2 separate regions of the Homo sapiens genome follow, and region 2 is linked to region 1. Evidence: promoter capture Hi-C in 16 types of primary human blood cells and fetal thymus (Javierre and others, 2016). All regions are on one chromosome and are shown on one strand. The core of a region is centred on a gene start or on the middle of the fragment in contact, and the rest is flanking DNA. Distances in the headings are between cores, read along the strand shown. Region 1 holds the start of SRSF1 (serine and arginine rich splicing factor 1). Region 2 has its middle 61 kb from the start of AKAP1.

Region 1 (6,210 bases), core at 2,464-4,963:
GAGGCTGAGGCACGAGAATCACTTGAACCTGGGTGGAGGATATTGCAGTAAGCCGAGATCCTGCCACTGTACTTCAGCCTGGGTGACAGAGCGAGACTCCACCTCAAACAAACAAACAAAAAGCAAATTCAATTATATTTTTCTGGAATGAAATTACCTTGAAATTAAAAGTACCTATGTGTATTGTCTCATCCCTTCTTAAAATGAACTATCCAATTATAAACTACTGATTTCAGTTATCACTTCAGTTATCATTGACTTATGATTAACAGAAGCTTTGCCTGCATAAATTTAAACTGATGTATAAAAGAACAGAAAGAAAATGTGTTCAGCAAATAACTGTTGAATGAAAGAATCAACAGGCTGCAAGTTTTTAAAAACTCTCCTCTTTTCTGCCATTCACTTAATGGAACAATGCTAGAAACAGTAGATTTGTTGAAATAGTATCTTTTTTGGTCACCTTCTCATTTAAAAACATATCAGGCTCTGGCCAGGCACAATGGCTCATGCCTGTAATCCCCCCACTTTGGGAGGCCGAGATGGAAGGATCGCTTGACTTCAGGAGTTCAAAAGCAGCCTGGGCAACATGGCGAGACCCCATCGCTACAAAAAATACAAAAATCAGTCTGAAGTGGTGATGCATACCTGTAGTCTCAGCTACGAAGGACACTGAGGTGGGAGAATCGCTTGGGTCCAGGAGGTCGAGGCTGCAGTGAGCTGTGATTGCACCACTGCATTCCAGCCTGAGTGAAAGAGCAAGACCCTGTCTCAAAAAAAAAAAAAAAAAAAAAAAAAAAAGCCGGCCAGGTGCAGGGGCTCATGCCTGTAATCCCACTACTTTGGGAGGCCAAGGCCGGAGGATCACTTGAGGCCAGGAGTTCGAGACCAGCATGGCCAACATGACGAAACCCCGTCTCTACTAAAAATACAAAAATTAGCTGGACGTGGTGGCTCATGCCTGTAATCCCAGCTACCAAAAATACAAAAATTAGCTGGGCATCGTGGCACATGTCTGTAATTCCAGCTACTCGGAAGGCTGAGGCACAAGAATGACTTAGGCCAGGGAAGCAGAGGTTGCACTGAGCTGAGATCATGCCATTGCACTCCAGCCTGGGTGACAGAGGGCAACTCTGTCTCAAAAAAAAAAAAAAAATATATATATATATATATATATATATACACACACACACACAAACACACATCTATATATATACTTAAAGGATGGTCTGAAGAATAGGCAATCTATCCTTCCCTTGACAAATTTCAGAAGTTCTTTTTCCTTTTGGGATCTATGGACTCCTTTAAGAAGTTGATTAAAATTCCAAATCCTCTTCCCAGAAAAAAGTACACACATGCATATAATTTTGTACATGCACACATGCATATAATTTTCGAAAATATTACAGAAAGCTCAAGGATTACCAAAGGTCATCTGTAGATATACCGAGGATCTACGGCCACAAGACCAAGCATCCCTGCTCATTTCAAATTGAATTTGTATTTTGGGGTCACCGAGAAACATTTGTAAAATATATTTCATCAGCTTTTAGAATTAAGAAAACATGTCCTTCTCCTGAATGACCTATTTACTTTTATCCCAAAGGCACTTTGGATTTTGAATACACAATACTTCTGTACCCTTCTTTACCGTGACTTCTGGGAAGACTAAAGTAAAATTTGCAATCTATCTCAACAAATTCAACGGGCTTTCACTGCAGGCATTTTGTATAGTAATTTATGCGTATTTCATTTAATCCACCCCTCATTTTCCCATTCCTCTGATTTCTTACTCTAGCATTTTTTTTGTGTGTGTGTGAGATGGAGTCTTGTTCTGTCACCCAGGCTGGAGTGCAGTGGCGTGATTTCCGCTCACTGCAGCCTCCACCTCCTAAGGGTTCAAGAGATTGTCCTGTCTCACCCTACCGAGTAGCTGGGATTACAGGCACGCGCCACCATACCCAGCTAATGTTTTGTATTTTTAGAAGATACGGGTTTCGACATGTTGGTCTCCGACTCCTGACCTCAGGTGATCCGCCCGCCTCGGCCTCCCAAAGTGCTGGGATTACAGGAGTGAGCCACCACGCCCAGCCTCATCTAGTTTTCATGTTTTATGGTATCTCTGTAAGTTGCCTCACATCCTTGCGGAAAGGGACTACTGTAAATAAATAACATGAAGAAAATTATCCCTTAAATTCAGTGTGTAGATCTGTTATGGCAAATTTATGACTGCAGGGTTTGATTTTAATTTGTTGTTGTTTCCCCCTCCTTTTTTTTTTTTTTGGAGGAGTCTCACTCTGTAGCCCAGGCTGCAGTGCAATGGCGCCATCTCAGCTCACTGCAACCTCCGCCTCCAGGGTTCTAGCGATTCTCCTGCCTCAGCCTCCCGCGTAGAGTGGATTACAGGCGCCTGCCACCAAGCCCGGCTAATTTTTTGTTTTTTCAGTAGAGACGGGATTTCACCATGTTGGCCAGGCTGGTCTCGAATTCCTGACCTCAAGTGATCCAACCGCCTCGGCCTCCCAAAGTGCTGGCGTGAGCCACCGCGCCCAGCCTGATTTGAATTTTAATTCATTAGCGACGTTTAAAAATCCCAGGATTTCACATAAAAATCCAGATTTCAGACGTCGAAAAAAAATGTAAAATGTTATCTCCCAATGCCGCAGGCAAACAGGATCACAGTCCTGAATAGCAACCGCGGTATCTAGTGGTTACGGTTCTCACATCCATTTTGCTCCATTTTATTACCTGAGAGGACCGGTATTTTCAAAACCTGGTGTATCAGTAACTTTTAGGGAAAACTTTTGAAAAAAGGACTGCACACACGCACCCTTTCTTCCTTCTCGTTCTTTGAAAGGAAACAACAGAAACGATTCATTCTGCAGGCATTCTGCGCTAGTCCCACGGACAGGCGACTAACAAGAGATAAAAAGGTGTGGGTCCCATAGGCGGTACGGTGTTACCCCTTCTGGTTGGCGGGTACCACGTTGCCGGTCGGGATACGGACCCACTGCGACTAGCACTAGGAGTGCTGACCCGAGCTATGCAAAGTTCTGACGAGAAGGCGGAACGGTACTTAATGAAGAGGATTAAGGAATCTAAATCGGTTTCGCTAAATTAGACACATCTGTCTAAGCAGCCACGGTCTATTCGCAGCAGGGGCGGGAAGACAAACCAACGCCCCAGCTCTCCGTTCAATCACCCGCAACTCAGCTCTGGATTAGACGCACCCTACGAAGATACCCGGGTTTCCGGAGCAACCGCCCGGGCCGTCCCCCTTTGGCCCCGCCTCCGAGACTCTTTCCCGCCAAAGGCCGTTATCGCCGCAGAGCATGGTGGGACAACGCTTTAGGCTAGGTTTCACCAAGTGCTTTGAAGGCGCCGAGTTGCTTTCAAAGATCCTCATTCCTGGAGAAATCGACCATCCTTCAAGACCCGACCTGGATGACTAGCTCCTTTAACGAAAGTTCGTTATTTAACTTTTACCAAACGGCTGGTCACTCTGTTCGCAAACCACCCCAAGCTGGGAACGCGGGGGACTTTTTTACCCCCTTCGTGGGGAGGGTGACGTCGCGCGTGCGTGCGCGTGCGCTGAACGTAGCCCTCGCAGCACCCGTTGCGCTCCCGCGCGTGCGTGTTGGGATCGAATCGCTGTTTCCTTCCGCTTCTCTTCCTCTGTCTCCCCCCCATATCCGTGCGCCGAGCTGATAAAGGCGCCATTTTGGAGGGGCCGCGGGAGACGTGGTGCCGCTGCGGGCTCGCTCTGCCGTGCGCTAGGCTTGGTGGGAAGGCCTGTTCTCGAGTCCGCGCTTTTCGTCACCGCCATGTCGGGAGGTGGTGTGATTCGTGGCCCCGCAGGGAACAACGATTGCCGCATCTACGTGGGTAACTTACCTCCAGACATCCGAACCAAGGACATTGAGGACGTGTTCTACAAATACGGCGCTATCCGCGACATCGACCTCAAGAATCGCCGCGGGGGACCGCCCTTCGCCTTCGTTGAGTTCGAGGACCCGCGGTGAGGCGGCATGGGGCTTGCAGCCTTGAGGAAATAGGTCCGAGTAGTTGGGGAAGGCTCCAAGGCCTTAACATAGAGAACGGGGAAGCGGGGGCTCTTAGAGAGGTTGGGGCGAGACTGTATCGCCCATGCAGGAGTCGAGTAAGGAGCTGAGTTGATGTGGCTTCTCTGGCGCCTCGCCTTGGACGTCCCCGGAGCCCATTCGCAGGCTGGAGCGGGAAACTGAGGCGCTGAGGGCTGGTGTAGTGGTTGGGAGCCTGGCGTGTTTCTGGGTGGGGGAGGGGCCATTCCTATTATGCGGCGCATGTGGGCTCTTCCACGTTGGGTGCGCATGTGCGGGGGGTTTGCTGGTTCCCAACTGAGCGAGCTTCTCCTCCTGGTGTTTCTCATCCCTTTTACTTTCTGCGATCCCGCAGAGACGCGGAAGACGCGGTGTATGGTCGCGACGGCTATGATTACGATGGGTACCGTCTGCGGGTGGAGTTTCCTCGAAGCGGCCGTGGAACAGGCCGAGGCGGCGGCGGGGGTGGAGGTGGCGGAGCTCCCCGAGGTCGCTATGGCCCCCCATCCAGGCGGTCTGAAAACAGAGTGGTTGTCTCTGGTGAGTGTACTGGTTGTGTGGATTGATGTGAAGGGACGAAAACTACCTAAAATTTTTCTCTTGCGTGACAGGTTTAATAATTGCAAATTTTTCATGCTAGGTCTTAAATTGCTTTAGTTTTTGGGTGAATTTAATAAACGAGGATTGCTGCTGTGGTGATTTACCAAATTAGGTTGCGGTACTAGATACGAAGATCGTTACAAATAATTTTGGACTCTGGATTCCAGAATCTTACCAGCTCTCTTTACCTGGTATCACTTAAGTACACCTATTAAGTACTTTAAAGTACTCTTTGTCCTAATGTACCTTACCAGCTTAACGTGAAATTTAAGATAATTGGTACTAAGAAAAAAAAAATCACTTTTTCAGGACTGCCTCCAAGTGGAAGTTGGCAGGATTTAAAGGATCACATGCGTGAAGCAGGTGATGTATGTTATGCTGATGTTTACCGAGATGGCACTGGTGTCGTGGAGTTTGTACGGAAAGAAGATATGACCTATGCAGTTCGAAAACTGGATAACACTAAGTTTAGATCTCATGAGGTAGGTTATACACGTATTCTTTTCTTTGACCAGAATTGGATACAGTGGTCTTAACAGTGGAATTTCAAGGTAAGGATTCAGGCAAGGTTGTCCAAGTAAATTGCCAGATTTCTGGTTTTAGTTACATTGTATTCATTCAGCATGTCTGAAGATAGATGAAAGCTTAGATCTTTCAATGGAAAGTTCTGTCTATCCAATAGGGAGAAACTGCCTACATCCGGGTTAAAGTTGATGGGCCCAGAAGTCCAAGTTATGGAAGATCTCGATCTCGAAGCCGTAGTCGTAGCAGAAGCCGTAGCAGAAGCAACAGCAGGAGTCGCAGTTACTCCCCAAGGAGAAGCAGAGGATCACCACGCTATTCTCCCCGTCATAGCAGATCTCGCTCTCGTACATAAGATGATTGGTGACACTTTTTGTAGAACCCATGTTGTATACAGTTTTCCTTTATTCAGTACAATCTTTTCATTTTTTAATTCAAACTGTTTTGTTCAGAATGGGCTAAAGTGTTGAATTGCATTCTTGTAATATCCCCTTGCTCCTAACATCTACATTCCCTTCGTGTCTTTGATAAATTGTATTTTAAGTGATGTCATAGACAGGATTGTTTAAATTTAGTTAACTCCATACTCTTCAGACTGTGATATTGTGTAAATGTCTATCTGCCCTGGTTTGTGTGAACTGGGATGTTGGGGGTGTTTGTGGTTATCTTACCTGGGGAAGTTCTTATGTTTATCTTGCTTTTCATGTGTCTTTCTGTAGACATATCTGAAGAGATGGATTAAGAATGCTTTGGATTAAGGATTGTGGAGCACATTTCAATCATTTTAGGATTGTCAAAAGGAGGATTGAGGAGGATCAGATCAATAATGGAGGCAATGGTATGACTCCAAGTGCTATTGTCACAGATGAAATTGGCAGTATTGACCTTATACTAAAAGGCAGGGGTTAAAAATGATTATATACATTTTCCTTAAAACACTTGCAAACATTTTATTCAGTTGTCTTTAGCTACAATTGCTTTGCTTTTTAAACCTTGGCAATTGTGGCAAAAT
Region 2 (6,210 bases), core at 2,515-5,014, 860 kb after region 1:
ACACCTATGCCGGAAGTTGTGTTCATTCTCATATACCTGTGATACATGTACACAGGTCACACATCATGGGAGCAAATAACTTCTGATGACAGAGGCTCCGCTTGTCGGGTACCACAAGGCTTCCCCTCTGTGCCCAGCAGGGTCTGGTTCGAGTCCTAGGATGGCACTTCCTGCCTATGTGGTCCTGTGCAAGTGGCTTGTCTTTCTGCTCTGCCTTTTTCTCTTTTGTCCACAGAGGAGTCATGAAGATTAGAGGTAATGAACATTAGCAAGGTGCCTAACACAGGGGAAGGTCTAATAATAGCGAATTTACAAGGTTGTTGGAATGGTTGCACGAAGCAGCAGATGTGCCTGGCCCATGGGAGCTGCCCAAAAAGTGAAGGCAGCTGAGGATCCCGGGTTAGATATCCACACGGCTTTCCCAAGATCCTACAGGACTCTCTGTCACATGCGACCACTTCCTTCCCCCTCATTTTTCCCCTCTGGCTCTTCCTTTCTTGGTTTAGTTTTCCCTTCCATGACCTCATTGACAGAGCTAGTCAGATTGGAGGCATCCTACCTCCAAAGCCCCTGCCCCGGCAGCTGGAGGGTAATGTGGAGGAGATGGGGTACAGAGGCTCCTGAGAGAAAGCAGTGTCTCCGTGGAATTTTCCTATCAGATATGGTCGCAGTGGGGCACGAGGGGGCTGCCCAGCATGCTATTCAAACTTGGACATCTCTGCAAAATGCTGCATTCACAGAGGGATACCAAATAGATCGAAAGAAGAGGATATTCATCCTACAGTTTTAAACGTATATTTTCCCTCATGCATTGCTATACGAGTGGTAACTGGTACAACCACTTCAGAAAACTAAACATACGCATACCCCAGCCAAGAGAAATGGGTGCATATATCCACCAAAAAAAAGAGTGTCCAAGAATGTTGACAGCATTTTCCTCCTAATAGCCCCAAACTGGATGCAACCCAAATGCCCATTTCAGCAAGAGAATGGGGAATATATTGCAGCATAATCACGTAATGGAATTCTACTCAACAATAAAAAGAATAAACCACTGCCATATGCAAAAACATAGGTGATTTCACAGACATTATGTTCAGAGAAAGATACCAAGCACAAAAGAATATACACTGTATTCTTCCATTTATAGGAAATCCAAGAACAGGTAAAACCAATCATTAGGTGATAGAACCCATAACGGCACTGACCTCTTCGGGGGTACTGACTTTGAAGGGGGGTGAGAGAAACTTCTAGGTGCTGTAAATATCCTGATGTCGGTAGTGGTTATGGAGGTATATACATATATAAAAAGCAAGTGGAACACCTAAGATCAGTGCACTTTCCCCATACTTCGTGCATTATACCTCAATGAAAACTAAAAAATAATTATATTCTATAGGGAAAAACTCTCTCCAGCCACATTTTTCCTCAGCTGTCACACCACAGCAATCAACACAGAATTTTTATGACCAAAGGTATGTGTGTTTCTTCCCCACACACCAAGCAGCGGACCCCAGGGGGGTGTCCTCCAATTCAGTTCAGACACTACGATAGCGTCAGCTCCCACAGGCTGAGGGCTTAGTCCCCGTGACTGCCCTCCAGCACACACCAGTGGCAAGTCCAGGCCTCTGAAACTTCTGACTGATTGGCTTCACAATTGCCCCCACCACCCTCTTTGTGTTCAATTAATTTGCTGGAGCAGCTCACAGAACTCAGGGGAACACTCGCATTTACCAGTTCATTATGAGGAATATCGCAGCCAGGCACAGTGGCTCACGCCTGTAATCCAAGCACGTTGGGAGGCCAAGGTGGGCAGATCACTCGAGGCCAGGAGTTCGAGACCAGCCTGGCCAACATGGTGAAACCTCGTCTCTGCAAAAAATACAAAAATTAGCCAGGCGTGATGGCGCATGCCTGTAATCGCAGCTACTCAAGAGGCTGAGGTGGGAGGATGGCTTTAGCCCGGGAGGTAGAGGTTGCAGTGAGCCAAGATCACACCACTGCACTCCGGCCTGGGCACAGAGCAAGACTCTGTCTCCAAAAAAGGATATTGCAAAGGATACAGATGAAGAGATGCATAGGGTATAGGAGAAAGGGCGTGGAGCTTCCATCCCCTCCCTGGGATACCAGGCTTCACACGTTCAGCTATCCGGGAGCTCCCCCAACCCAGTCCTCTTGGGTATTTATGGAAGTTTCAAAGCATTTTCCCCCCAGGGTACAGGGTGGGACCCTCTCTGAAGAAAGCCTTAAGACCCACAATCAGAAAGGCAGGGGAAGTTGAGGCTGGGTATAGTGGTTCATACCAGTGATCCCAACACTTTGTGAGGCTGAGGCGGGCGGATCACCTGAGATCAAGAGTTCAAGACTAGACTGGCCAACATGGTGAAACTGTGTCTCTACTAAAAATACAAAAATTAGCTAGCCATGGTGGTGGGCACCTGTAATTCCAGCTACTCAGGAGGCTGAGGCAGGAGAATTACTTGAACCCAGGAGGCAGAGGTTGGAGTGAGCTGAGATTGCGCCACTACACTCCAGCCTGGGTGACAAAGCGAGACTCCATCTCAATAAAAAAAGAAAATGAGAGTCCTATCTTGAGTTAGGTGAATGGAGGGCAAGAGAGAGATTCTGTTTCCTGAAGCCTGCCCCTGAGGCCTAATACACCCAACATTATAAGTAAAGGCTGTAACAGGGGCTATGGGAGATATGAAGCAGAAGCCGTGGACAACAGCCCATCTATATCATAACACCACGTATTCCATTACCGGGTTCTACTGTGTATGTGAGCTGGGAATGAATAAATCCAGTAACTGTCTTGGGAAAAGCACATTTATATTGCATCTTATTTGTTTTTATAATAATGGCCTTGATTTTAAACATGCACACATTTGAAGCACACCACAATTTTTGCAATCCGTTTTGACATTTCTCCATTGTTTAATAAACCAAAGCTTAAAGAAAGGACAATGTTCTGGCCCTCTCTGAACCTCCAGGAGGCCCCATCATGAACATAGCCACAGGATGGGCAGAGACAGGGAGGAGTCCAGAGGGGCTGTGTTCTCCACAAGACACAGCCTGGAGGTGGGGTGGGGCTTCGCCAAGTGCCAGCCCTCGGGGGCACCGATGAGGCAGAAGATGGGCTGGGGCACCCAGTCTTGGCTTGAGCCCTCTCTGCCTGCTGCTCAGAAGGAACCTGCAGCAACCCAAGCTTTCTAAAGCCCAGGCTGTGCCATTCTTTTTCATAGCTGTCAGGGCGGTATAAAGCACATTGCCTGGGCCAAGGTGCTTTTGTCCCCCTGGAAAAGAGGGCTGGAAGCTGGAAGACAGCCAGGGAACTGCCCAAAGGGGTAGTCAGGGCCAGCTTCCTGGGCATCTGTCCTGTGCAGTCACACAGGGCCTCATACTGAGAAGGGCTCCACAGTTGGTTAATACTCTGCCGTCACAGTCTTAACACTTTTTTTTTTTTTTTTTTTGAGACGGAGTTTCACTCTTGTTGCCCAGGCTGGAGTGCAATGGCGCGATCTTGGCTCACTGAAACCTCCAACTCTCGGGTTCAAGCGATTCTTCTGCCTCAGCCTCCTGAGTAGCTGGGATTACAGGCATGTGCCACCACACCTGGCTAAGTTTTGTATTTTTAGTAGAGACGGGGTTTCGCCATGTTGACCAGGCTGGTCTTGAACTCTTGACCTCAGGTGATCCACCTGCCTTGGCCTCTCAAAGTGCTAGGATTACAGGCGTGAGCCACCATGCCCGGCCTACATTATTTTTATTTTTAATTTTTTAGTTTTTTATATTTAAAAGATAGAGACGGAGGTCTCATTATGTTACCCAGGCTGGTCTTGAACTCCTGGGCTCAAGCGATCCTCCCACCTCAGCATCCCAAACTGCTTCAGCCACTGCACCCAGCAGTCTTAAAGTCTTAATCTTTGTTGAACAAGAGGCCCTGCAGTTTCATTCCCCTCCCACTCCCCACAAACGTAATGGTCAGTCCTGGAGTAGCAGACTGTGGCATTAATAGCCTATGTCTGGAGTCGGGGTTCTATTCCCAGCTCTGCCCCTTGCTGCCGGGGCATCTTGGTCAAGCCATTTAAGCTCCATGCCTCAGTGCCCTATCTGTAATATGGGGGTAACAGCTATACCCGTTCAGAAGATGTTAAGAGAATCAAATCAGCCTTCAGCTCCCAGCTTGGCACATTACAAAGTACTCAATGAAGCTCGGTGATTAGCGCTAAGATGATTGAGGGCGGATTACAGAGGCAGTACTCTTGCCTGGACCTGCCTCAGAAATGCCTTTTCTAAAGGCAGGAGCAAAAGAAAGAAGCTTTGGGATTAACTCTTCCAAAATAGCAAATGTTCTCTCTTCAGCATTAGGGCTAACACCAGTGGCATTATTACACCCCAGGAAAAATGTGTCCTCATCAAGTCACAAAAGCCTGGTTTCAACCCACAGAGGGAACAACAACAAAAACGTCTGAAATGCTGAAAAAGCCAAGAGCGTCGGGTACACGTTATCCAGCCCATCTTTGATTTGGGAGTTCACTGAAGCATGACTGATGCATGGTTATCTTGGGTCCTATATGTCTCTTCCGTAAATAGACTTTTGTTACAAGAAAAAAAATGGACTGACTTGGAAAAACAGAAAGAAACACAAGGAGCAGCGAGACTTTTTCCCTTCTCACAAAATGGACAGGTCTGAGAACTCCCAGGATCCTGGCTGTTCACAGATCAATTAACCTCCTGTAGCCTCAGTTTCTGCCCTTGTAAATGGGGAGTATGCAGGAGTGATGAGGAACACAGATTCTGGAGACAGACTCCCGGGGGCATCTTAACAATCTCACTTACCGGTTGTGTGGCCTGGGACACACACTAGGCTTCTGTGCTTCTGCTTCTACCTCCTGTAGAAGCTACAGTACCTACCTCCTGGGGTCGTTGGGAGGGTGAAGCAGGATAATATACATAAAGCGTAAGGAATGGTGCCTGGCCCAGAGTAAGTCCGCAATAAATGTTAGCTGCAGACCATGAACCTAAATCCCCCAGCTGCAGTTGTGCTGAATAATGGGAGAAGTAGTCGTAGCAGTTGTTGCTATTGTTATTTAAACTGCCGCAGGACCTCTGATCTTGTGACTTCAGGTTCCTTCTGCATATGCCTCCAAAATGTAGGAGACCCTTAAGGAGCATCAGCGATTGGTCAAGGCCTAGGGATAAGCTAAACTCAGATGAGATCTTCCCAACCTTCCCCACCCAGAGGACCATGATCATAGGCCTCAGAGTCATTTTAATGTCAGAGAAGAAAAGAACCAGCTGGGCGCAGTGGCTCACGCCTATAATCCCAACACTTTGGGAGTACGAGGCAGGCAGATTGCTTGAGCCCAGGAGTTCAAAACTAGCCTGAGTAACATGGCAAAGCCCTGTCTCTACTGAAAAAAAAAATGCAAAAATTAGACAGGCATGGTGGCACATGCCTGTAGTCCCAGTTACTCAGGAGGCTTAGGTGGGAGGATCACCTGAGCCCAGGAGGTCGAGGCTGCAGTGAGCCACTGCACTGCAGCCTGGGACACAGAGTGAGACTCAATCTCAAAAAAAAAAAAAAAAAAAAAAGAATCTTGTAGGTCAGCACGTCCACATTCCTCATTTATAGATGAGGAACTAAAGCTCAGAGAAGGCAAGTGACCTGCTCAAGGTCACACAGAACAGGAGCTGAGCTAGGAAGACAGCTCAGAGTTCATGACTTTGCACATCCGTTCCCTTCCTGTTCCCGCTTACAGCTTATTCTGTTGGAGTCCCTGGCCCCTCACAAGGTCCCCCGACCTCTCTATCTCCCAGGTGAGCATCTGTCAGGTTATGGACTCATCTAATTATTGGCCACATCCTACTAGAGACCCATTTTTCTTACTGAATCAGGCCACCATTAGGTCCTGAAAGCCCCATAAAGTCTTCTACGGATGAGCAGATCCTTTAATCTATTATTCCCGAGTCCTATTTATATATATTTATCCATATGGCTATATAAATAGGGCTTTGAGATGTATACGTGGCAGGTTATTGCTGTAGCATAGCTGTTCTCCCCAAGAGGAAAACAAAAATGATGTATGGCAGAAGCTCTTTTCCATGCAGAAAGCTCCTGTCTGATTTATTAAGAGTTAGGTTGCAGTCACATGCTCTGAAGTAGTGAATCTATTGCAAAGTTATCTAAGAGCAGGACACTCTCAGCTC

Evidence for each region. The method cuts DNA at HindIII sites, captures the fragments that hold promoters and counts their contacts. A CHiCAGO score of 5 or more calls a contact.
Region 2: a contact is called between a fragment that was not itself captured here and the fragment with the promoter of SRSF1 in region 1, in 1 of 17 cell types (M2 macrophages). The highest score is 6.1, in M2 macrophages.

The regions. Positions count from the first base shown.
Region 1 is chr17:58,004,749-58,010,958 of GRCh38, reverse strand. It overlaps SRSF1 (serine and arginine rich splicing factor 1), which reads left to right and starts at 3,713. Exons shown (of 4, transcript NM_006924.5): 1 at 3,713-4,015; 2 at 4,432-4,616; 3 at 4,986-5,158; 4 at 5,359-6,210. The coding sequence starts at 3,822. The coding sequence ends at 5,553. RefSeq lists enhancers at 3,362-3,411, 3,360-4,078, 4,202-4,251, 4,522-4,571, 4,903-6,102. The HindIII fragment of the contact is 5,045 bases long and covers 278-5,322 here.
Region 2 is chr17:57,143,586-57,149,795 of GRCh38, reverse strand. No RefSeq gene overlaps it. Among named protein-coding and RNA genes, the nearest start is that of AKAP1, 61 kb to the right of the region's middle. The HindIII fragment of the contact is 1,113 bases long and covers 3,208-4,320 here.